Regions from separate parts of the Homo sapiens genome. Here region 2 is linked to region 1. The links are contacts of gene promoters, found by promoter capture Hi-C in blood cells and fetal thymus (Javierre and others, 2016). All regions are on one chromosome and are shown on one strand. The core of a region is centred on a gene start or on the middle of the fragment in contact, and the rest is flanking DNA. Distances in the headings are between cores, read along the strand shown. Region 1 holds the start of UTP14C (UTP14C small subunit processome component). Region 2 has its middle 40 kb from the start of NEK3.

What was found. Contacts are between HindIII fragments. The CHiCAGO score rates a contact against its expected background, and 5 or more counts as called.
Region 2: a contact is called between a fragment that was not itself captured here and the fragment with the promoter of UTP14C in region 1, in 1 of 17 cell types (fetal thymus). The highest score is 5.1, in fetal thymus.

Annotation. Positions count from the first base shown.
Region 1 is chr13:52,020,752-52,027,764 of GRCh38, forward strand. UTP14C (UTP14C small subunit processome component) reads left to right here and starts at 3,940. Exons shown (of 2, transcript NM_021645.6): 1 at 3,940-4,186. It overlaps ALG11 (ALG11 alpha-1,2-mannosyltransferase), which reads left to right. Exons shown (of 4, transcript NM_001004127.3): 3 at 3,255-4,186. The HindIII fragment of the contact is 12,744 bases long and covers 1-5,649 here.
Region 2 is chr13:52,196,591-52,203,603 of GRCh38, forward strand. No RefSeq gene overlaps it. Among named protein-coding and RNA genes, the nearest start is that of NEK3, 40 kb to the left of the region's middle. The HindIII fragment of the contact is 304 bases long and covers 3,640-3,943 here.

The DNA.
Region 1 (7,013 bases), core at 2,690-5,189:
CCCATTCCTTCACAGGTACTTTACTCTGACATGCAGAACAAGGAGCAGCTCCCTGAACACATCATGCTCTCTCTCGAGTCCTTCCCTTTCTATATAGTGTTCTTTTCTTCTGAAATAACCTTTTTCTCCCCAGTTAATTTCTACAAGCCTTTCCTAACTCAACACATACTACAGTGCACTTTTCATTCGACCTAGCAGTATTTATTGGGGACCTGCTATGTGTCAGGCACTGTTCTGGGGGTTGAGATTAAGAGAACAAGATCGATCAAGTCCTTCTCTCCTGGACGTTTGATTTTAGTTGAGAGAGACAAGATAATAAGCAAAGAAGAAAAATATCAAATAGTGAGACGTGCTATATAAAAAGTTAAAATAGGGTAATATAGGAGTGACTTGATACTTTAGATAGAGTGATCAGGGAAATATCTGATAACAATCAAAATCTGAATGACAAAAACAGCTGCATTCACTGCGTGATGATTGTATGTTAGGTATTGTTTGAAGTGCTTTACATGTGTTAGCTCACTTGATCCTCAGAACAGCCTTTTGCAGTTGTTACCATTATCCTCATTTGACAAAGAAGAAAACTGGGGCACTAGAGCCCATGTTCTGAACCACATGCTAAACTGCCTGCCTTATGAAAAGACAGTGAAAATGAGAAAAGAGAATTCAGAGTAGAGAGAACAACCACTGCAAGTCCCCTAAGGCTGGTTGGAGCTTGGCGTGTTAAAAAAAAAGAATGCCAGTTTGGCTGCACCCTGGAGGGCAAAGGAGAGCATGGGAAGGGAGGTGACAGAGGGAGGCAGGTTCCAGATCACACAGGACTTGAGTGAGCAGGGAAATTAGTTTAGATTTTATTCTAAGTGCTATAGTAAACCAGTTTTGGGGTTACTGTTCTGTGACATGGTTTAGGGGCTGCCATGTTTGGTCTCCATCATACTGTTGCAATTAGATGGCAGCTGGGGCTGGAGGCATCTGAAGCCTTTTTCACTCACATTCTGGTTCTTGGGCTGGGATAACTGGACCTGCTGGGGGCTGTCGGGCATCTCTCTCACTGAGGAGCTTCTTCATGTGACTTGGTTGTGCTTGCATACAACATAGCAATCTCGGGCTGGTTGGACTCCGTACATGACAGCTGTCTTCTCCTAGCATGAGCATTCCAGGAGACAGGAAGTAGGAGCTGCCAGTCCCTTAGAGTCTATGTTGGGAAACTGGCACAATGTCACTTTTGCCATATTCTGTTGGTCAAAATAGTCACAGAGCCAGGTGTTATTCCAGGGGAGGGGACTTAGATGCCACCTCTCAGTGAGAAAAGTATCAAAGAATTTGTGGCCCGTCCGGGCACAGTGGCTCACACCTGTAATCCCAGCACTTCAGGAGGCCAAGTCTGGCAGATCACTTGAGGCCAGGAGTTTGAGACCAGCCTGGTTAACATGGCAAAACCCCTTCTCTACTTAAAAAATACAAAAATTAGCTGGGCATGGTGGCACACATCTGTAATCCCAGCTTCTCAGGAGGCTGAGGCACGAAAATCACTTGAACCCGAGAGGTGGAGGCTACAATAAGCCAAGATCACGCCACTGTACTCCCGCCTGGGCGACAGACAGAGCGAGACCCTGTCTTAAAAAAAGAAAGAAAAAACAAATGGAATTTGTGGGCATTTTTAGGCTACCAGAGATCACAATCTTTTTTCACATTTTAAAAGGCTCATTCTTGCTGCTGGGTAAAGAGTGACTGGGAAGGGGCCAGAGAGGAGCAGTTAGATTGTCATCCTTTAGGCTTCCCCAGCATCCTGTGGGTGTCTTTATCAATGCGTAGCACACAGTTTTGCAGTTATTTGTTTTGCATGTCTGTTTTCTCCACTGGACTGAACTTCTGAAGATAAAGACTCTCTCTCATCTCCATACCCCCAAAACCTGGCATCTCATTACTAGATGCTTAATAAATTTGTTTTTTTTTTTTTTTTTCAGATGGAGTTTCATTGTTGTTGCCCAGGCTGGAGTGCAGTGGTGCGATCTTGGCTCACCACAACCTCCGCCTACTGGGTTCAAGCAATTCTCCTGCCTCAGCCTCCCAAGTAGCTGGGATTACAGGCATGTGCCACCACACCACACATATTGGTCAGGCTGGTCTTGAACTCCTGACCTCAGGTGATCCACCCGCCTCGGCCTCCCAAAGTGCTGGGATTACAGGCGTGAGCCACTGCACCCAGCCAATAAATGTTTTATGACTCAAAGAATAATTATAAACAGAGGGAGACCAAAGTATTACAAGTCATTAAAGAATATACTTTTAGATATTTTCATACTAATTATATCTAATTGTGATATAGGCACAAGATCTAGCTTTTAAAGACTTGCATTTTTCAGATAAAAACCCTGAGTATTGCTTTAGTATTGTGATCCTATCTGAAGACAGGTTTGTTGAATCTTAATTCTTGTTTATAGTATTTTATTACCATTTTTTTTACTAAGAACACTGTCAAAACTTTTTAGTATTTCTTTAGACCATCTCATTCATAAATCAACACTTACTGTTGATGCCTGTTCTGTGTGAAACCCTCAGTGGAGGAAATAGCAAAGAACTAGAAGTCATGGTCTCATTTGAAGGACTGTACTTCTAATTCAATAAAAAATGTAGAAAACATCATTTTTAGTATGACCAACATGGAGAAACCCTGACTCTACTAAAAATACAAAATTAGCCGGGCGTGGTGGTGCATGTCTGTAATTCCAGCTACTCGGGAGGCTGAGGCGGGAGAAGCACTTGAACCCGGGAGGCAGAGATTGTCAGCCAAGATGGCGCCATTGCACTCCAGCCTGGGCAACAAGAGTGAAACTGTCTCCAAAAAAAAAAAAAAAATCAAATCTTCTTTATAACTGTAAGAAAATAGTTATCTACAACTTTTTGCTTGATTTTAACCTAATATATTCTTTTTTTTGTTTTTGTTTTTGTTTTTTTGAGACGGAGTTTCACACTTGTTGCCCAGGCAGGAGTGCAGTGATGCAGTCTCGGCTCTCAGTCTCTCAGGGTAGGTAGCAGGCTTTTTTTTTTTTTTTTTTTTGAGATGGAGTCTCACTCTGTCACCCAGGCTGGAGTTCGGTGGCATGATCACGGCTCACTGCAACCTCCGCCTCCTGGGTTCAAGCGATTCTCCTGCCTCAGCCTCCTGAGTAGCTGGGATTACAGGTGCGTGCCACCGTGTCTGGCTAATTTTTGTAACTTAATATATTCTTAACCATTACATTCTATTTTAGGTATCCTGAAGCAGTTTATGTTGTTTATACCGGCGATGTTAATGTCAACGGTCAACAGATACTAGAAGGTGCTTTCAGAAGATTTAACATCAGATTAATTCACCCAGTGCAGTTTGTTTTTTTAAGGAAACGCTATCTTGTGGAAGATTCACTGTATCCTCACTTCACACTGCTGGGCCAAAGTCTAGGATCCATTTTTCTTGGCTGGGAAGCTCTAATGCAGTGTGTTCCTGATGTTTACATTGATTCAATGGGATACGCTTTTACGCTTCCTCTGTTTAAGTATATAGGGGGTTGCCAAGTTGGAAGCTATGTTCATTATCCTACTATCAGCACCGACATGCTCTCTGTAGTGAAGAATCAAAATATTGGATTTAATAATGCAGCCTTCATTACCAGGAATCCTTTTCTCAGCAAAGTAAAGCTCATCTACTACTATTTATTTGCTTTTATTTATGGACTTGTTGGTTCTTGCAGTGATGTAGTCATGGTCAATTCTTCTTGGACACTAAACCATATTCTCTCACTATGGAAAGTTGGGAATTGCACTAACATTGTTTATCCACCTTGTGATGTGCAGACATTTCTGGACATTCCCTTACATGAGAAAAAGATGACCCCAGGACATTTGCTGGTTTCTGTTGGCCAGTTTAGGCCGGAAAAGAATCATCCATTGCAGATCAGAGCCTTTGCTAAATTGCTGAATAAGAAGATGGTTGAGTCACCTCCTTCGCTTAAACTTGTCCTCATTGGAGGTTGTCGTAACAAAGATGATGAACTTAGGGTAAACCAACTGAGAAGGCTGTCTGAGGATTTAGGAGTTCAAGAATATGTGGAATTTAAAATAAACATTCCATTTGATGAATTAAAGAATTATTTGTCTGAAGCAACAATTGGTCTGCATACCATGTGGAACGAGCATTTTGGGATTGGTGAGTTTGGCCTTTAAACAACTTGTTTGGTGCCATGAGATACACATTTTAAGTTCTTTTGATAAAATGATAATACTCTGGAAATCTGCATCATGCCCTAATTCTCTTGCCCTCATCCACCAAATGTGCTTTCCTCACTTGAGACCTTGTAAGATAGTAGTTAATAATAGCAGCTAGTATTTATTGACCAATTCCTGTGTGTGGGCCACTGTGTTGAGATTTTTACATGTATTATCTAATTTAAGCCTTTCTAAACCCGTTTGATAGGTGTTATTGTTATTCCCATTTTATAAATAAAGAAACTCAGGCACAGGAAGGTTTAGAAATTGCTCGAGTTCAGTTACACAGTAAGTGGTAGAGCCCGGATTCTAACCCAGATAGCCCCTGCTCTTAACAGCAACATTTTCTCTCTCCATCTAACCCCACTACATACTTACTGGTACAGATTCCTGGGCCCTACCCTAATCCTACAGAATGGCCAAATGAGAATCTCTGGACAAGGCCCAGGTAGATGTATTTTGATAATGCTGCTTAAGTGATTCTGTTATGCATCAAAAGTTGAGAACCACTGTTTGCATAGGGGCTTCTCACAGTAACTCTTTTAGTCTTTTATTGATTCTACCCTCACCATTGGAATGGCTCTCCTCTTTGTGCCAGATTGCATCATAAGTCTTCAACTTAAATCTCCTTGCACTTTAGCCTTTCTTGTTTATTCTGGCACAAACTGCTATCTCTATTCTGACCTGTTAAGCACACATTTTGCTATAAAATCAAGTACTGCTTTGTGTTTAATTTGGGTCCACATATATTTCTCAAGCGCTTTGTGCCTCACACTGTTAGTTGTTAGGGGAAATGAGGATAACATAAAAGTGACATTTCCTAAACTAAGACTTCAATTTCTCTTATACTCTTTTTACTCCTAGTTAGTAGTGTAGTGCTAGGCCCAGACATTAAGCAAGAACTTGTTGACCCAACCTGTTGCATGGGATCTGACCTCCTGTGCTTCCTTCCATAGAAACTTACTAAGCATTCACTCTGCTGAGCGCTTGGGTGGATGCTAGGGATGTGGTGGAGACAGGAGCTGCTTGGCCTGTCAGAGGCTTCCCACCCTCTGGTGGTACCAACAGGCTACACAGGCAAGTGCCGTGCCGTGCTGTGCCGTGTGCCAGGTGCTATGCTAAGGAAGTGCAGGGTGATGTGAAAGCGCCAAAGAGAAACCTAACACAGACTTGTGCGGGCAGGGAACAGTTGCCCAAGGAAATGATGTGACACTTGAGCAGGACCCGAACAATAGAGGTTAGCCAGGAGAGAGGGGAGAGTCTCCAGCAGAGGGAACAGCACTGTGACAGGAGTGACAACAGATGCATCAATAGGAACATTCAGCAGGAAGACAACAGAGAGGTGATATAGGCCAGGTTAAGCCAGTGGAAAAAAATAGCAGGATTTTAAGTATTGCACGTAAAAGCTTTCTGATTTCTCCAGTCCATTCTGGCCACATGGGGAGTGGATCAGTGAAGAGCAGGGAGAGCAAGACTGGAAGGGCAGTAAGATGAGCCGGCCTACTGTAGCAGCCCAGATGGAGGTGCTCATGAGCTGAACTTCGTAGGTGAACATGCTTGAGAAACATTCTGCAGTAGTATTGACCAGGACTTGGTGATTAACTGGATGTGTTAAATGAGGGAGGAAGAGAAGACTACCTAGGGTTTTGGGAGCAGGGCAGCTGTGAGAATGGTGTTGGCTTTCTCCCAGAGGGGAAATCCAAGAGCAAATGCCATTAATGAGCCAAGTTTTGAACCTGCAGAATTTGAGTTCATCTGTGGGACATGTGAGGGCATGCGTCCAGGAGGTAGTTTTGTATATAGGAGTCTGAAGTTGAGAGGAGTCTGGTCTGGAAATAAAAAATGAGGATTGTCCTTGTGCAGGTAGTTATCAAAGCTCCCGTGGATGTGGTTAAGATCGCCTGGGGAATATGTACAGAGTGAAAAGAGGCTCTCAGTACAAAATGCAGAGAACAGGAACAGCTGAGAAATGGGGAGAAGAAATGGAGAGGCGGGGAAAGCCATCCAAGTGCAGTGTCTTAGAAACCAAGGAAGAGAGTGTTTGGAGAAGAATGGAGAGGGCACAGATTCCGATGCTGCCCAGATGCTGGGGAAGGTAAGGCAGTCACTGGTGACCTGGGCAAGAGCAGTCTTGAGGGAGAAGTAGAAGCAAAAGTCAGACTATGAGCAAAAATCAAAAGTCAAGCACTCAGAAGTGAACAAGTAGAGTTGGTAAGTGCAAACCACACTTTCAGTAAGTTTATCTGTGAAGTACGGGGAGGGGGAGAAGAGACAGTGGCTAGGGGTGGGTGTTGCAGGACCTGAGAAAGGGCATGTGGTGCCCTAGCTTCCTAGCTGATAGGAAGGAGCCAGTAGAGAGGGAAAGGGTAAAAGATGCAGGTCTCTGAGAAAGTACAGGATGCTCTCCAGCTTCAAGCAGAATATGATATGAGCTACTGAATTCTGTTCTGCAGGGATTTCACCAGTTCTAAAAACATTTGGAATGATTTAATTTCTCTCCTATACATCCAGGATGATATCAGCTCTGTACCATCCTTCAGATAATTGGGAAAGCAGTCACTTGAATCATTCCCTGAAGGGCTTAATTCTCCTAGGAATATGGCTAAGAAGGGCTGGCTAGAGTAATTTATATTTCATGTGTATCATTTGGCAGAAACTAACCACAACTTTCATTTAGTTCAGCACTGTTGTTGGGCATGCAGTAGTCTCAAATATGCCAGAAATCCAGGCAGTAACATAAGCACGGCGATAGTATGCTTCACTTAGGT
Region 2 (7,013 bases), core at 2,542-5,041, 180 kb after region 1:
GAACCCGGGAGGCGGAGCTTGCAGTGAGCTGAGATTGCACCACTGCACTCCAGCCTGGGCAACAGAGCGAGACTCTGTCTCAAAAACAAAAAAAAAAAAAAAAAAGAAAAGAAATAAAAAGCAGGAGCATAAAGCAGTCACACTAAGCCTCCACTGCTCAGGTGTTGAGTAGACACAGCAGAGCACTGCTGTGCTGCAGGATGGGCGCAACCAGGCAGCCAGGCTCCGCCCCTTTCTGTGGCACTCCGGACAAGTTTTCGCACCCTCTCTGGGTCTCAGTTGCCTTATCTGTGGAAAAGGGAATCATGTTAGCACCTACCTTGCAGGCATACTCTGAGGATTAAATGGGTTAAATATGGAATAGTGTTTACAGCCGAGTGTAGCACACAGTAAATACTATAGAAGTGTTTGTAGCTGTTACAGTCAAAATGGAAATGTGGAATGGAATTTGAAAGTCTATTTAAAATCAGGGAACCTATGCAAAAAAAAAAAAAAACAATTTTGGATGAGGTTGCTAAATTATCTAGAAGGTTAGTAAACACTGTTATTTATTTATTTATTTATTTATTTATTTATTTATTTATTTGAGACGGAGTCTTGCTCTGTCAGCCTCCCGAGTAGCTGGGATTACAGGCGCCCGCAACCGCGTCCGGCTAATTTTTGTATTTTCAGTAGAGATGGGGTTTCACCATCTTGGCCAGGGTGGTCTCGAACTCCTAACCTCGTGATCCACCCGCCTTGATCTCCCAAAGTGCCGGGATTATAGGCGTGAGCCACCGTGCTCGGCGAACAACACCGTTCTTTATAAGGATAGCTTCTGATTTCTAATGTAGCCACTTCTAGAGAACATCAAAACCATTTTTTTTTTCAGCAGTGACTACTTCTGGACGTGAGTGAATTTTCATTAGTCAACCTTATCAAAGAGTCCAGGAGAATATATTGTTGTTGTTTATAGAGTGTTAATATATTGCTACATTCAGAAGCTCAGGAAAATGAAAGAATGTTAAGAAATCAGAATATTAAGGCTGGGCGCTGTGGCTGAGGCCTATAATCTCAGCATTTTGGGAGGCCGAGGTGGGCAGATCACCTGAGGTCGGGAGTTCCCAACCAGCCTGACCAACATGGAGAAACCCCGTCTCTACTAAAAATACAAAATTAGCTGGGCGTGGTGGCACATGCCCGTAATCCCAGCTACTCCAGAGGCTGAGGCAGGAGAAGCACTTGAACCCAGGAGGCAGAGGTTGCGGTGAGCCAAGATCGCGTCATTGCACTCCAGCCTGGGCAACAAGAGCGAAACTCTGTCTCAATAAAAAAGAAAAAGAAATCAGAATATTGTTTCCAGCTATTAATAATTCACGGTGCTGCAGACCTCTTGAATCATCATTAAGTCAGAAATCTAAGTGAAAATAGTGTTGCTCTTGCATTCAGTTGTATTATAAAGCACTTAGCACTGGATATTATGAAGTGTTTTTCTGTGTTCCAAAGTATAGCATATCTTTGGAGGAGTCCAGCATGAGAGCTTAGGATCAGTCCTATCCTGAGACACAGATAGGCATTCTTTGTTTTCTGCAGTGGGATGAGCAGATAGGAAGGACCAGCACCAAGAATCTGATTTGCTCTGGGGGTTGCATGGATGCAGAAGAACCACAGAGAAGGGGTTGGTCCAGCTGCCCAAAAGAAATCTTTGAAGCCCATGCTGACCAGTATCTAGAGTCCAGGACAACAGTTCTATTTACTGCCATACAACACAATAATGCTCACCCAACTTTTATAATCACCACCCTGATTCCAAAACATTCTATGAATAAATGATCATTTGAAAGTTGATAGCCAATGATTAGAAGTGGGAGTCAATGACTAGTGAAAAGCCGAAAAACTATGTTATGCATGGTATTCATAATAGCGTAGAAATACTAAAAATAGATAACTCTTACAAAGTTACAAAAATCACAGCAAAGATATTAAAATAGCACGTTACCTTAATGGTACAAGCAATTTCAATTCACCTTAATGAACTTCTCATGATATTTAATGTACCCCAGATTCATTTCTAACATTATTTAATTACTACATGAATTCTAAGAAACACTTAGATCTAGTAAATAATACATCTTGGAAAGATCTAAGTGAATAAATAATACATCTACAAAGATTCAGAAAAATTTAGAATATTCTGTCCATCTGCATGAAGTAATCAGTAGTTCATGCTAGTGGATCACACACAAAAAGGTAAACCATGAAGCCACTTCTCCCAAGTGACAGGATGGCAGAACACGAATGTCATGGCCCAGGTGAGGCTTACAGGCTCTGTCGCTACTTTGCTTGTGCAGCAAAATGTATCCTATTCTGCTGTTTGTTTTATGCCATTTTCCATCATACCTACTTTGTCTATGTATTTCACAGGCAATCAAATGTAATTTATTTTATTAATTGCTTTTTAGTCACGAGAATTGCCCATATACGTGACTTCATTTCCCAATAAATATGTCTGTAAATTTGTGTCTTTTATGTTCAAAGTAATCCTTTCCCCTAAAATCAACTCTGAATTAACTTTCAATGCCTCTGTGTAAAAAAAGTACATAAGACTGTTTCCAACAAAATCGGGGTGCAGCATAAATACCTGCAATGTGGAAATGAGATAATAACACCACTGACTGCCCACTGCACACTAAACAATTTACATCCTCATCTCATTTAATTTCCTCAATGACATCAGGATTATCCAACAAGCGCAGTCATGTGTCTCAGCAGGTGTATGAAAACCTGTAACAAGGAGTCCAGGAATGGTCAATATCTGGAAATCCAACTAGCCAGGCCAGCAATGGCCTCAGTTTTCTGAGGTTTGCTCTTTGTGAAATAAGCCTGCAGAATAAACCCAGTTGTCCAGCAGTTTCAGCTACCTACTTCAATTGACTTGTGTCTCTACTAGCAAAAGTATTAATGGATTATGGACATCTTTCCAAAGGCAATGTACTAGCTAAAGGCACAGAAAGAAGGAGAGAATGAGGCTGGATGGACTTACTGGGGGCATAACTCATCGTGAGGTTTCCTGATCTGGGTGAGGGATGATGTGTGTGGTACATACTGGATGTGGTATTTCCTTTTTTTCTTAGGTGGATTAAGAGCTGTTTTGTCGGGCCGGACGCGACAAAACAGGGATCACGCCTGTAATCCCAGCACTTTGGGAGGCCGAGGCGGGCGGATCACAAGGTCAGAAGATCGAAACCATCCTGGCTAACATGGTGAAACCCTGTCTCTACTAAAAATACAAAAAATTAGCCGGGCGTGGTGGCAGGTGCCTGTAGTCCCAGCTACTAGGGAGGCTCAGGCAGGAGAATGGCGTGAACCCAGGAGGCACAGCTTGCAGTGAACCAAGATCACACCACTGCGCTCCAGCCTGGGCGACAGAGCGAGACTCCGTCTCAAAAAAAAAAAAAAAAGAGCTGTTTTGTCTCTGCATCTTTCAAGTTGGGAAATTTTTATCTTTCTTTCTGGATCTGTCTGTCTGTCTATCTATCTATCTATCTGGATAGATAGATCTCCAGCTGGTCTATCTTATAAACCAGATCAAACTACAGTATCAAACACAGCCTAAAACAGCACTTTAGGAGGCCAAGGTGGTGATTACTGAAGCCCAAAAGCTTGAGACCAGCCAGGGCAACTTGGTGAAACCTCACCTCCACAAAAAATACAAATAAATAAATAAATTAGGTGGGCATGGCGATGTGTGCTTGCAGTCCCACCTACTCTGGAGGCTGAGGTGGGAGGATTGCTTAAGCCCAGGAGGCAGAGGCTGCAGTGCCACTGCACTTCAGCCTGGGTGACAGAGCAAGAGCCTGTCTCAAAAAAAAGAACGGCAGCAAAAGATGAACATAAGTGCATGTTTATATAATATATAGGTAGATGATATTAGTGTAACTGTATAACACTATGTGAAAAATGAAGCTTTAGTCCCCTTGGAATACACAGGTGAGTATGACTTGTTCCCTGCTTCAAGGGGCTGGTGATCTAGCAGAGATCACAGATGTGGAGCAGGTAAACTAACAAGATAGGCAATGCAACAGGTGCCAGGCCTGTGGAGGCCCAGAGAGGTTGCACCCAGATGGATGAGTTTCCTAGATTTCATTAGCTTCTTCACAAGCGCTTTAGTGCCCAAAGCCAAAGGACAAAGTAAGAGGGAGGGGCACGGAAAGCCCCTCAGCAGCAGGAGGACTTATGGGAGATGGGACGGAAGATGAAGTGGTTTCGTGCCCTTCAAATTAGATTGTCTAGGTACTTGTCTTTCCCCTCCACGTAAGACGACTCGTTCTTAGTATATTCATGTGTAAAACTGCCTTGGATTTTAGGTGCATGGAAGACCAGGATCATGTCACACTAGTGTGTATTGCACAGCATATGACATAGAACTATGTTGAAACAGTGCTTAGCACATGACTTTTGGAGACGATAGAGATATGACCAGGCAGAACTGTCCTCAGGTCAATTTCTAAAGTGCATGAGAGTACTCTGGTTCCCCCAGCCCATCCTCTTGCCTTCTTGTACTCATTCCCCCCGTCCCTTGGCCCCTCTCTATGTTGCCTTTTAGCTTCTCAGAGCCTCCTTGCTTTGGGTCTCACCCAGGCCTGACACCCTTGCCGAGACCTCTCTAAATTAGCCTTTCGTCCCCTCTCCTACCTGTCAAACTGCTCTCTCATCTATCCACCAAGGGGAGGGCTATGTTGTTAAACTAACACTAATGTATGAAAGACCACATTGCTAGCTTACACTTGTACTATCTCATAAAAGTTAATTTTTAAAAGAGGTGCTTTCAAATTTCAATAAGCAAAGGCTTCAGCTGAGATTATTTTCTTTTTGCTTTCCTGGCCTCTGAAGTTATGCTTTCAGGAAACTGCTTCTCTGTCTAAGTGTTAACCTAAGCTGGCCCTTAGATGCATTTGTTATGTTCAAGTGCCCTCTGGAGGCAAACATAGTCTCTTGTTAGATAAAAGACATGCCTGCCAACGACCCACAAATGATTGGCCCCCGTGCTGTGGGGTCCATTCATTCCCATCTTTGTGCATTCCCAGCACAGCCCTGCCTCAGGGCCTTCAGCTTAGGCATGGAAAATTCTTTGGCCTGGAATAGCTGTCCCAAAGATTGTCCCATGACTGATTCCTTCATACCATCCACTTCAGCTCAGCAGTGCTTTCTCAGCCGTGCACCGCATCTAGCCAAGTCGACCTTCCCACTCTGTCATGTCGCGCTGTTTCCTTGTCTTCCGGCACTCAGCACTATCTGAAATAATCTTCCGTTCACTCAACACGTTCATCAAGTGCCTGACCTAGGCCCTGTCTCATGCATTTGGGATAGATCAAGGTACAAATGCAACATGTTCCCTGCCCTGGCGGAATGTACAGGTCTTGGGAAACACGTGGTTTCCTTTCTCATCATCAGCCTCCCTGCTGGAATGTAAGCTCAGTGAGAGCAGGGACCCCTCATCAAGGGGCAGCCTCATTTACTACCTTATCCCAAGAGCCTAGAATTGTGCCTGGTACATCCTTCATGGTCAATCAATATTTGTGGAATGAATAAACAAATGTTTATATTAGCTAGACACAGTGGCTGAGGCGAGAGGTTAGCTTGAGGCCAGGAGTTCGAGACCAGCCTGAGCAACATAGTGAGACCTCTGTCTCACAAAGAAATCTTTTTAAGTTTATATTTTCTATCAGGATACACAACTAACATTTTAAACTTATTTTGCTGTGACAAAGTTCATTCATTCCATTATCACAAGTCTATAAAATGAGACAAACTGTATACCTCATTATTATTCAAATGATCCATAACAACAATAGTTAGCATTTATTGACCACTAAGTATTAGACACTATAATAGTGCTTTATATGTATTGTCTCATCTTCACAAACTTTCCTGAGGCAAGTAACACCATTTTTCACTTTTAAGATGAGAAATTTGAGGCTTACAGGAGCTTCTCACTATCACAAAATCATCAGGTGGGAGAGCCAGCTTTTGAGGACCGGACAGTCGACCCAGAGTCCATGCTGTCAGCCTCCTCCACACAGCTATGTTCACATCAGGAAGTCTGTATTACTCAGCGGCTCCCTCTACCATCCTCTAAAGAAACCCTGCACTCTCTTAGCAGGGCCTGTGAGACCCCTCAAGATCAGCCCTGCCTCCTTCGCTAGTCTCCTTCCCATTACCTCTCCTCCCACCCTGACGGGAGCCCCTGCAGCTCCCAGACGCGGCCATGCCTTCCCCCATCTCCTTGCCATCCAATGCTGTGTTCCCTTCCTCTTCCCTGCCTAACTCCTACTCCTACTTCAAGGCTCAGCTCTTGCCCCAAGCTCCAGAACATTTCCTGGTCCTCTGGGCTGGGTTCTGTGACCATGCTCTACTGCTCCCAGCCCCCTGTGCCTGGCTTTGTGATTCTCAGTGAACGAAATGAGGTGCGGCTTTTCATCTCCAAATTTCCGGTTCTTAATTGGAACAGAGAAATTGACTAAATACTTTGAATGATGAACATTTGGGAATTGGCCATGTTTTACAAATTTAGGCACAGTGAGGCAAACAATCCCATTGTAAATAAGAGGGTTAGTGCTGGGCACAGTGGCTCACACCTGTAATCCCAGCACTTTGGGAGGCTTAGATGGGAGGATTCTTTGAGGCCAGGAGTTTGAGAACAGCCTGGTCAATATAGTGAGACCTCCTTCTCTACAAACAAACACACAAACAAAATAATTAAAAATTAGCCAGGCATGGTGGCACAGGCCTGTAGTCTCAGCTACTTAGGAGGCTGAGGTGGGAGGATCATTTGAGTCTCGGAGCTCAAGGCTGCAGTGAGCTATGGTCACGCCACAGCACTCCAGCGTAGGTGACAGAGCAAGACTTTGTGTCTTAAAAAAAATTAAAAAGGTTAGAATGTGGTCCATGGAAGTCCTCAAAGGTACAATCGCATGAAGCTGAGAAGCAGCAGCATGGAGCAGGGGGTACTCAGACCATCAACTGGCAGAACC